Linked DNA regions of Homo sapiens: all the other regions are linked to region 1. Evidence: promoter capture Hi-C in 16 types of primary human blood cells and fetal thymus (Javierre and others, 2016). All regions are on one chromosome and are shown on one strand. The core of a region is centred on a gene start or on the middle of the fragment in contact, and the rest is flanking DNA. Distances in the headings are between cores, read along the strand shown.

What was found. The method cuts DNA at HindIII sites, captures the fragments that hold promoters and counts their contacts. A CHiCAGO score of 5 or more calls a contact.
Region 2: a contact is called between a fragment that was not itself captured here and the fragment with the promoter of COPG2 in region 1, in 1 of 17 cell types (M1 macrophages). The highest score is 6.0, in M1 macrophages.
Region 3: a fragment that was not itself captured here is called in contact with the fragment with the promoter of COPG2 in region 1 in 3 of 17 cell types (megakaryocytes, erythroblasts and M2 macrophages); the score reaches 6.4 in megakaryocytes.
Region 4: a contact is called between the fragment with the promoter of TMEM209 here and the fragment with the promoter of COPG2 in region 1, in 1 of 17 cell types (fetal thymus). The highest score is 5.3, in fetal thymus.

The regions. Positions count from the first base shown.
Region 1 is chr7:130,667,301-130,670,000 of GRCh38, forward strand. COPG2 (coat protein complex I subunit gamma 2) reads right to left here and starts at 1,448. Exons shown (of 24, transcript NM_012133.6): 1 at 1,332-1,448; 2 at 182-234. The coding sequence starts at 1,368. TSGA13 (testis specific 13) reads right to left here. Exons shown (of 8, transcript NM_052933.4): 8 at 1,343-1,883. The coding sequence ends at 1,714. RefSeq lists an enhancer at 651-760 and silencers at 1,031-1,620, 1,711-1,820. The HindIII fragment of the contact is 8,378 bases long and covers 1-2,700 here.
Region 2 is chr7:130,178,028-130,180,727 of GRCh38, forward strand. TMEM209 (transmembrane protein 209) reads right to left here. Exons shown (of 15, transcript NM_032842.4): 10 at 375-500. Among named protein-coding and RNA genes, the nearest start is that of TMEM209, 26 kb to the right of the region's middle. The HindIII fragment of the contact is 352 bases long and covers 1,108-1,459 here.
Region 3 is chr7:130,226,633-130,229,332 of GRCh38, forward strand. No RefSeq gene overlaps it. Among named protein-coding and RNA genes, the nearest start is that of SSMEM1, 20 kb to the left of the region's middle. The HindIII fragment of the contact is 226 bases long and covers 1,259-1,484 here.
Region 4 is chr7:130,204,009-130,206,708 of GRCh38, forward strand. It overlaps TMEM209 (transmembrane protein 209), which reads right to left and starts at 1,398. Exons shown (of 15, transcript NM_032842.4): 1 at 1,365-1,398; 2 at 1-102. The coding sequence starts at 1,367. It also overlaps a transcript of SSMEM1 not described here. RefSeq lists a silencer at 1-175 and enhancers at 837-1,636, 1,313-1,492, 1,553-1,662. The HindIII fragment of the contact is 16,046 bases long and covers 1-2,700 here.

The DNA.
Region 1 (2,700 bases), core at 198-2,697:
TATAAGCTCCAAATTCTCCTGTGACAAGTAACCCCTCTTTCTTTTCCCTCAAATCTATATTCCCTAAACTCTGTTACGTTTCTTGTTTTGCATGTCGTGATCACAGCAGCCCAGGGATTCTCTGCCCACCACTCTAAAACAGAATAGAAAAGAAAGGGCACAAGATACTTCCCAGTCATACCTCCTGTAAAACAGCACTCTTCTCCAGATGCTGGAAAGGATTGGAGCCACTACCTATTTATAAAACAAAACAAAAAAATGTCCTGAACAGCTGTTCTACACAAACTTATATACTTTCCAGAGAAGGGTACTGAATGCTTGGGAAGTGAACACTTGGATGGCACAGTGATAATCATGGCTAATACGCATACGAACTGAATGAAATCATTTTGATCCCGGCTCTGTCACTGCCATACTCGAAGAGCTGAGACTTCTCTTTCGCAGCAACCCTCTCCAAAATGAGTGTCTTCTTTCCCTGCCCTCTTTTTCCATGAATGTTAAAAATGTGTCATTTCCACAACAACGAAGATTAATGAGATTGTAGTAGGGTGCTTTTGATTTCCTTAGGTAAGCAGTATTTTATGTGTTTCTAACACTTAAGGAGAGGCAGAAACGAAGTTTCCCAGAGAATCATGCAGGCGTAAAGGTGCAAGAGGCCATGGAGGTTGACTAACCCAACCCCCTCTCACACTGTGGGAGATGCTACCAAACACTGAGAATTTTTTTCTTTTTGAGGATGCTTGGCATCTTCCCCATTTGCTCTGGACCAAAGACGGGCATCAAGACGCAGGTCACTTCTGGACACCTGAGCATTCAACGAGCTGTGTCCCACGGGACAGTCTTGCCCCCGGGGACCTGGACAGAGCCGGTGACCCCAGGAAAACGATAAGGTACCAGGCACCTGAACGTTCCTCCACACACACCCTGTGCCGTCGACCCCAGCCCCGGGAACAGGGTGCTCCCACTAGGGGTCCGACCCTACCAGCACCCCTGGACGCGGAGACGCGCGCACGCCCTCGGCCCCCGCCGGAGGCCCGCGCGCAGGGGAGGAGGCGGCTCGGAGGGGCTGCGCCGCAAGAGGGGCGGGAACGGGGCGCGCGCGGGCGCCGGGGCGGGAGCGCGCGGCCCGAAGGGAGGCTCCGGCGCCCGGGGGAGGGGCTACGGGCAGGCCCCGGGCAGCCGCGAGGGGAGGGGAGGGGCCGGCTCCAGCTCCGGCCCCCTGGCACGGCGGCGCCCACGCCCCCAGCCCCGCCGGCCTGAAAGCAGGTGGCGGCGGGCGGGGGAAGGGGCGTCCCGCGGCTGAGGGTGGGCCTCGGAAGCCCCGCGCGTACCAGACTCCTCGTCCTTCTTGTCGAATTTTTTAATCATCTTGGACGACTTCCCAGCGCCCAGACCCACCGCAACCGTCCCAGGCGCCGCAGCCGGCGAGCGGAAGAGGCTGCAGGAAGGCCGGCCCCGCGCTCTCACGCCGGTTGGGCCGCCGCGCCTTCACTCGGGGCCAAGGCCCGCCCTCCCCGGCCGCCCTCGGCCCCCGGGACGCAGCCACGCCCCCTTCTCCTCTTGCGGCCCGCCGGAGACTTCGGCTCGACCCTCCCGGCTTGCGACCCGGGAGCCCACGCCCGCAGCAGCAGGAATGTGGTTTTATTTGGGTGGCGACTTCTGCGGACCCCTCAGTCTCAAGAGAGCGAGGCGGGAGGACTGAGGGGTCTGTGTTCACCCGATGACCGTGGCCTTTTTGATAATCCACTGCGGGGCCCTCCCGTTGCGGAAGGCGCTCTCCCCGGGCGCGGTTCTGGTGGGCATGTCTTCCAAGAGCGATGCGAGTGTCAGTGGTTCCCGAATCACTTTGGAAATTGGCCTTTCACTCGCTGACTTCTTGGAAGCTACGACAAAGCACAGGCACCCTGGTGAATGTGGCTTTTCAGAAGTACTCGAAGGATACTTAATGTGAGATGTAAAGGAGACGCACTTGGAGGGACCAGAGGCTGGTCTTTAGAGGGTAGATTTTGGACCGTGTAATACCATTCCCAACCTATTTTATAATTTTTGGATTCCTTCATTTCATCAAAACCCAGTGGAAAATTCATTGCCAGTTTAGAGTCTTCCTTGTTCAAGCCTATTTCTTTCAATGATTCCATCTGAAACCATATTGACACTTAAGAAACTCACTAAATTAACGTGCATTCATTCCTAACTCATGTTCCTCTTTTTCTCAGAGTGTATGCTGGCTTTCTGTTCTCTTGTCTAAGAGTGTAGCTAAGAAACTTTGTCTGCCTTTGGCTTCACTGGCATAACTTGTTTAGAAATGTAAATTGGGTCTATACTCAACAGGATCGTGCCCCTGCAAAATTAGAGAAATTCTAACCTAGATTACATTCTACATCCTAGAGAAATTCTTTCCCTGAAATACAGATTTAAGATGAACTGTTGATATCCTACATATGGTATCATTTAAGATTTAACTCCGACTTGACTAAATGTACTATTAACTACTATGTTTGCTTTATATGGCTTGTAAAGGTCAAGTCATACTTTGTAGGTGGAGTTTTCTTTGAAGGAAATAGAAGTCTGCACTCATTTATTCTGGGGGTGAAAATAAACAGGCTTTGGGGAAGGAAACATCCTCTTCCTCTTCCTTGGCCCAAGGGTATTGGGAACCTAGGCAGAGACAGTGTAGATAATAGGCCCAGAGGTTCTCAA
Region 2 (2,700 bases), core at 34-2,533, 490 kb before region 1:
AAGTCAGTCTCCTCAGGAGAGCACATCTTCCACCAAATAATAAGAATATCACAGAAATATAAGGAAGAAACTTATTAAATAGGAATTATAAAAATTAAGAGAAATAAGGCTCAGCACACCGGAACTATAAAGAATGTCATAATGGCACCCATTCTTATGAGTCTAAAAGTAGGAAATGAGTGAAATAGTCACTGGAGCCCATTTAGCTCATATTTAAGTTTCCTACACAAAATAAAGTTATTAAGCTATAATTAATACGTATTTATAAGACATGTTATACTTTTAATTAAAAGTTTTTCCTTGTTAATCTTCACTGATAAAATTCCAGCATAGTAAAAAAGCTCTTATTTTTTTCTCTTCAAATCAATAATTACCTTTGATCCTTTCAAACAAGTATTCCTGATTTGGAGTAAGGTCTAGATACTGAACGATTGTGTTCAAAGTCGGAATGAGAGGCGCTTTAACCAGGGCAGCTTGTTTCAAGCTAGTAATACTAGCCTCTGTTAACATAAAACACAGAGAACACTGATTATTCTAAAAGTGAGTTTCCAAAAGAACTTAAAATGCTCTTCTCATGTGTTCATACAGCTGGTTCCTCACTACCTTCAGGTCTTCATACAAGTCAATGACGTCTCCCCTGACGACCCTACCTCAAATTTCACCCCTCCTCTCTAAACATTAATAACATTACCCTCCTGTGCTTTTTTCCTCCTTAGCACTAACCACTGTCCAATGTACTTTTTTTCTTCTTCTCTTTTTGTTTTTTGAGACAGTGTCTTGCTCTGTCACCCACGCTGGAGTATAGCGGCACAATCACCACTCACTGCAGCCTCAATCGAATGGGCTCAAGCAATCCTCCTCCCACCTCAGCCTCCTAAGCAGCTGGGACTACAGGCACATGCCACCACACCTGGTTCACTTTTTTTCTTTTTTTCTATTTAGTAGAGACAAGGTCTCACTATATTGCCTAGGCTGGTCTCAAACTCCTGGGTTCAAGCAATCCACCAACGCTGGACTCCCCAAGTGTTGAGATCACAGGTGTTAGCCATCGTGCCTGGCCCAAAGTACTTTATCTTTTTTATTGTCTATCTCATTTACTAGAATGAAAGCTTAATGAAGGCAGGGACTTTGGCCATTTTGCTCACTGCTGTATCCCCCAGTGCCCAGAATAGTATTAACACCTGGAACAGACTAGGCACTCAATGTCGAAGGAATAAATGAAAGAAAGCATTTTAATTTGCACGATCTACATTACCTAGAACCATTCCCAGCAAGATAGCCAGATTTACACATGCAACACCCCCTCCTCCCCTTCCCCAGAGAAGCAGCCAAATCGATTTTGGCAAATCTATAAACAACTAATATACAGAAAATTTGTATAAGACATGTATAAAAAGACACACAATTGTTTTCAAAATAAGTTGAATTAGAAGTTGCCCATTATGCCAGGACAAGCAGAAGCTTTTTATGGTAGTGATTTCTTTTATCATATCCTGCAAGATAACTATGCATAGAAATGTAAAAAGCAATTAAAAATTTCAAAATATCCAACTGTACTAGCAATATCCAATGTTAGGAAAAACATTCCTATATGTGTCATGGTTGCTAGAGTACAAACTGGTAAAAGCTTTTTGGAGAGATGTGTATCTTCTAAGCCTTGAAATATATCCAGATGCATTGGCTCATGTCTGTAATCCTAGCACTTTGGGAGGCCAAAGTGGAGGGAGTGCTTGAGCTCAGGAGTACAAGACCAACCTGGACACCCCATCTCTACAAAAATACAAAAATCAGCCAGGTGTGGTGGTGTGTGCCTGTAGTCCCAGCTACTTGGATGCGGCTGAGGTGAGAGGATCTCTTGAGCCCAGGAGGCTGAGGCTGTAGTGAGCCATAATAGCACCACTGCATTCCCTCTTGGGCAAAAGAGCGAGACTCTGTCTAGAAAACAATAACAAAAATCTTAAAATATTCACACCTACTGACACACAAGTCTACTTCTAAGAAATTATCCTAAAGAAATAATTACAAATGTATACAAAGATTTAGGTAAGAGGATATGCACCGTAGCATTATTGGTAAAGGTAATTACTTAATAACTAAGTTATAGTATATATATTTTAGGCAATTTATATGGCACCCTAAAATTTTACCTTTAGCAGATAAGAGAGTTGAAAATAGGTGATGGAAAATTACTATTATTACATAGTCTTTATGCTTTATACAACTTTGTGATTAATATCTGCTAAGAGTCTTGGGCTTATATCTAGAATATATAAAGAAAACATCTACCACTCAACAAAAAGACAAATAACCAAATTTAAAAATGGGTAAAGGAATCAAAAAGACATTTCTTTTTTTTTTGAGACAAAGTCTCAAAGTCTCGAAGTCTCGCTCTTGCCCCCCAGACGATCTCGGCTCACTGCAACCTCCGCCTCCAGGGTTCAAGCGATTCTCCTGCCTCAGCCTCCCGAGTAGCTGGGATTATAGGCGCCTGCCACCATGCTCGGTTAATTTTGTATTTTTAGTACAGACGGGGTTTTCACCATGTTGGCCAGGCTGGTATTGAACTCCTGACCTCAGGTGATCCGCCCACCTCCGCCTCCCAAAGTGCTGGGATTATAGGCGTGAGCCACCGCGCCCGGCCAAAAAAGACATTTCTAAGAAGATATACAAATGACTGATAAACACATGAGATGTTCAACA
Region 3 (2,700 bases), core at 122-2,621, 440 kb before region 1:
GAGACTTAGCTGGTGAGGATAGAAATGAACTTTGCACTGACTGTTGAGAAACAAGGGACAGTAGGAACTAAAACAGTGAGGTTGATGGCCAAGGGTTTGAGTGGAGGAAAAGGAGGAGGGGATCTGGGTTCAGACCGCATGGGGAGTAAGAACTCTGATGTGAGTGGGCTACCTTGCTCCATCATCCCAGGACATGGTGAACCATAGAAAGAGGAGCAAAACCATGGTCAGGTACAGATCTGGTGAGAAGAGACGGTTATGAAAGTGGGACTGCAGACACTAGTCATGGCTGGATGTTGCTTTTGTGCAGAGTCTGGTGTGGGCTCTACACCAAGCTGAACACCATCAAGAAAACCTGATAGCAACTACGACTCTTCCCCAGTGCCACTCCTTTATCTAATGAAGGAGTGCTATCTTCCAACACATTCTAGAAGTAGTACTTTGAAAATGACAACCCATTAGCAGATTGTGAAATAAATTTAGTGGGTCATGATTCGCATTTATTAAATAATAAACAGAAAGTTGGTTGGGTGTGGTGGCTTACGCCTATAATCCCAACACTTTGGGAGGCCAAGGTGGGCGGATTACTTGAGGCCAGAAGTTCGAGACCAACCTGGCCAACATGGCGAAACTCTGTCTCTATTAAAAATACAAAAATTAGCCGGACATGGTGGCACACGCCTGTAATCCCAGTTGCTTGGGAGGCTGAGGCAGGAGAATCATTTGAACTTGAGAGGCAGAGGTTGCAGTGAGCTGAGATCATGCCATTGCACTCCAGCCTGGGCAACAGAGCAAGACTCTGTCTAAAAAAAATAAATAAATAAAAATAATAGAAAGTAATAGCATATCACACATAACAAGGGTAAGTATTATTAAGTGTGTGTGTACTGAATTGCAATGTAAAATGTATTTCTTATTATGTGTGATAAGAGAAAAGGGCTGAGCACAGTGGCTCACACCTATAATCTCAGCATTTTAGGAAGCTGAGGCAGGAGGATCACTTGAGCCCAGGAATTAGAGACCAGCCTGGGCAACATAGTGAGACCCCTGTCTCTAGAAAAATATTTAAAAATAGAAAAAAAAAAGATAAAAACAAAAGTCACTGCTCTAGAGTAGTTTTCTTTGTAGATTTTCCTGTATCATCTAGCAATACCACTAAATTAGTGAAGGCACTATCACTCCATGCTTTCCCAATTGTCTGCTAGGAATTAGTAAATCCTCACCCACACTATAGGATGGACCGTCTCAATTAGTGAAAAGCTTGAATTAAATTATACTACTTTAAAAGAACTTCAGGTTTATTATTTTCAAATACAAAAAGTGGAAGCAAGCTAACCAACTGTTGCCTGGTACACAGGGGTGGGTTTTGGCTTGGTGAATAGACAAGAGTTATTTGTAATTGACATTTCAAAGAAGCCTAAGAAACAGGCCAGCCTTTGTTTAAATCATAATTACCCTGTTTGTATGTAAAAGAATACTTCTAAAGCTTTTCAAAACAACTGGTTCTTTTAAGCAGATAATTATTCCCCTTCCAATCTTGTTTACACTACTATTCAGAACTTCAGTGAACTTTTTTTTTCATAGATAGTACAAAGGTTAACTTCAGCAAACCCTTCCTCAAATTATCACAAATTCCCAATTAGTGGATTCTAAACAGGGTTTCCTTGTAACAATATGCCGAAGACTTGCATGATGTGTTTTTTATTGCTTTGAATAACATCTGACAAGTTTCCAAGTACCAGGCCACCTGGATATTCTCTATCTGTCAGGAAAAGATAGAGGTCAAAGAGGTGGGTGGGAGGGTGGGGGAAATATAAATCAGGCCCATACATTCCTATACTATTAGAGGAAGACAAAAGGAAGAAAATGCTTTTTTCCCCCCCAAATATCTATTACATACCAACTGAATCTTAAATAATAGGCACTTTTTGGTGTAAAGAAGAGTTGCACTTACCATCTAAATTTAACAAAACCTCAGATGAAAATAGAAAGCTGACCTTTTTTGTATGTAGACTGGCAGTTATTGGAGAGGCCCAGGGAAGTTGGCAAGAGAAAGATGCATTATAAATAAATTATACTTGTCCTTTCTCGTTATTTCTTATTGCAAATTTCCACTCAGTGCACAAAGGGATAATGCATGAAATCCTTTTTTTAAACAAAAATTTTATGATCCTGAGCAATACTGTTTTCCAGTTCTTTCATCTTCTGAGCTCGGCCTTTTTCACAAGCTGTTCCTCAAGCCGCCTTATTGCAGGGGCCTGTTGTCTCTAATTGTCTTTGTTTATTAGGGCCCTCTGTCACCATGAAGTTTCACGTGTTCAAATCTTGATTTAGCAGTGAGAACACCAGGCTGAGAGCTAACTCTGCTACTAATTAGTGTAAATCACAAAAGGAGAAGTGGAGAGATAAAAACCAGGTCCTAGTGGAAGGGTCTACAGCCAGGGTTAGTAAGACTGACTGGCAGGTCAGAGGATTGAGGAAGAGACGAAAGGGCTTGGAGAAATGCCACTTAGGGTCAGCGTCTTTTTGTCTCTTTTCTCTGATTGTACCCCTTCAGATACAGAAAGGGTCTGAAGTAGCCTATGTTGATTCTTTTCCTTTCTTCCATTTTGTTCCATTGTTCCTGCTCTCTTACATGATTTACGGTTAAGTTCTGATTGGTCTAAGCCAAGCCTGGTGGTGCCATTCTCCTGGTCCATG
Region 4 (2,700 bases), core at 148-2,647, 460 kb before region 1:
TAGGAGTCCCCAGGCTAAGACCACTTTCCTAGCCTCTGTTTCTTTTCTCATCTTGATGGTTCTGTCAATAAGGGAAGCACTAGGGTGTGCCTCCCCCTGCATCTATGAAAAAACAAAAAGCACAGGAATTAACCAGAAGAAACTATTGCTCCATTTAAAAACCAAATTTTGCATCCCTTATAAAGGTAACTGAAACCGCATATACCTTCTCTCATCTTTAAAATGTTTTATCAAAACTTCTTCCATTTTAATATCAGTATATGAAAAGGGAACCCAAAATTATATGTAACTTAATTGGCATCACAGTGTAATCAACAGAGAAGTGGCTGGTTATTTATCTATTTATTTGTTTTGAGACGGAGTCTTGCTGTCTCCCAGGCTAGAATGCAGTGGCGCGATCTCGACTCACTGCAACCTCCGCCTCCCGGGTTCAAGCGATTCTCCTGCCTCAGACTCCCGAGTAGCTGGGATTACAGACGCCCGCCACCGCGTCCGACTGATTTTTGTATTTTTAGTAGAGACGGGATTTCAACATTTTGGCCAGGCTGGTCTCGAACTCCTGACCTTGTGATCCACCCGCCTCGGCCTCCCAAAGTGTTGGGATTACAGGCGTGAGCCACCGCGCCCAGCCGTGGCTGGTTATTTAAGAACAATTTAATACTTCCAATACATAAAAATGTCTTATTTTGTAATTTAAGGGTTATGTCTAGAAATACTTTGTATTTTGTCTTTGGGGTATGTTACACGGACTAGGCAAAAGGCTAACTTCAGAAACTCAAAATGTCAAGTTTTGGGAGACTATATTCCATATCTGCTGTAAGTCATAAAGACTGTTGTACATCCTCATGCAGACGCCATTACTATCTCAACAACTCTGCACTTGGACAGCTGTACTCCAGGGCTCTCCCTTTTGTGTGTGGATAAAGGACAAGGATCCAAGTTTTAGAAGGGCACGTACTTATGATGGGGTGGTGAGCGGAGTAAGAGGGAGAGAGGGGAAAACGTGCATTGTTTTGGTCCACATTTGGGATTTATAATTCCTCCTTTCTTCAGCTAGGCTCAACTCTTACAGACCGTGCAAAACTTGTTCCAGCGACAAGCAGTCGTATCCCACAGAGGACAGAGCAATAGCTTTCGCGCCACTCAGCCCCCGCGTCCCAATTTCCCAGTCCAGAGCTTCCCTCCCCGGCTCCTGGGCACGAACTTCAGCAACCCTATTGCTTCTTTCTTCCCTTCCCCTAGAGAGGCGGAACGCCTAGCCACATCCCCCTTGGCTGAACCCAGGACAGATCAGCAGGCGCGGAACTCCCACAACCCGCGTAGATTCCAAGACAGGAAGCACAAACACGACCCCGAAAACGCACCATGTCCTCTGGCCGGAAAACGCAGGCTCGCGCCACTCTCTCTGGGCATGCGCAAAGCCAAGCTCAAGCGGGAGGCCACCGGCAAGCGGCTCTAAAGTTACCGGAAGAACTAGGTAGTCTCTTCTCGCGAGAAAGGGAGGGGTCGCAGGCCCAGGCGCTCGGAGCGTTACCAGGGAAACAGGTCTCGGTTTTGCGGCTCCCACTCAGCTGCGGGAGAAAGCTAAGCAGCAAAATTCAGACCAGGCTCTGAACCCGCAGTAAAAAGTAATAATTGTAACAAGCTGAATTTTGTATCTATTAATATAATTTTAGCTTCCCTAGGGCATTTATGGACTCACATGTGTAAACTGATTAAGTAGGGCGGCTCACCGTAGGATAGAGTGGCGTGATAAAGTGGCCAGACACCATCAGTGACAAAGCATTTCTTTCCCCTGTGTTAAAGTATCTATGTCAAGAGTCCTGACCCCATGTAATTTTTTTTTTGGTAGAGACAGGGTTTCGCCATGTTGGCCAGTCTGGTCTCGATTTCCTAACCTCAAGGGATCCGCCCGCCTCAGCCTCCCAAACGCCTGCTGGCCTCCCACCGCCTTTTGGGATTACAGGCGTGGCCCACCGCGCCCGGCCTAAATTCTTAATCTGTTTAATAGGGTGCAGCAATAACAAGCACACCCAAAATTTGTTTTATTGAAGTTGCTAGTGGTTTTGAGGTTAAAAATAATAACACATTTTCGTATGTATTTTTTGGAAGAGCTGCTCATCCTGAGGAAAAGGTTGAGCTTTGTTTTATTTAGCACAAATACCTACAAGTGTGCCGCTGAGCCAGGCGCACGGATATAGAAAATAAGACCTTCCTGGTTATTACCCAGAGGAGCTCAACCCCAGCGGAGGCCCACAGATGCATTTCGGTGGCAGGTGAGGTGGATGCAGTGCTCCCCAAGGAGGCGCATCCAGCCCAGCCCCAGCTCTCGCGAGCTTCCTGGAGGAGATGACGCGTTAGAGTCCACAGCCAGAAACCCAGGGCCTGGGGACTTGTTCTGAAGTGTGCCTCCTAATAAAAACATTAAGCCATGCCACAGTAAGCTAGTGGATTACATCATGTATGTCCAATGGCCAAAGTTTTTCCTAAAATGATCCTAAGATTAATACCACGTGGTATTGTATATTAATGAAAATCGGCAGGTATGCTGTGCTCTTGAAGAGCTGTTAAGTTTTATCATTTTTAGATTGCTTTAGCAGCAATGTTGTTTTGCTCTAGTTTTAGATTTAGAGATGAACTAACTGGAAAATTGTTCAAAGTGAAAGGGCTCAAGGTGCAATCAAAATTAGAATACCGGCC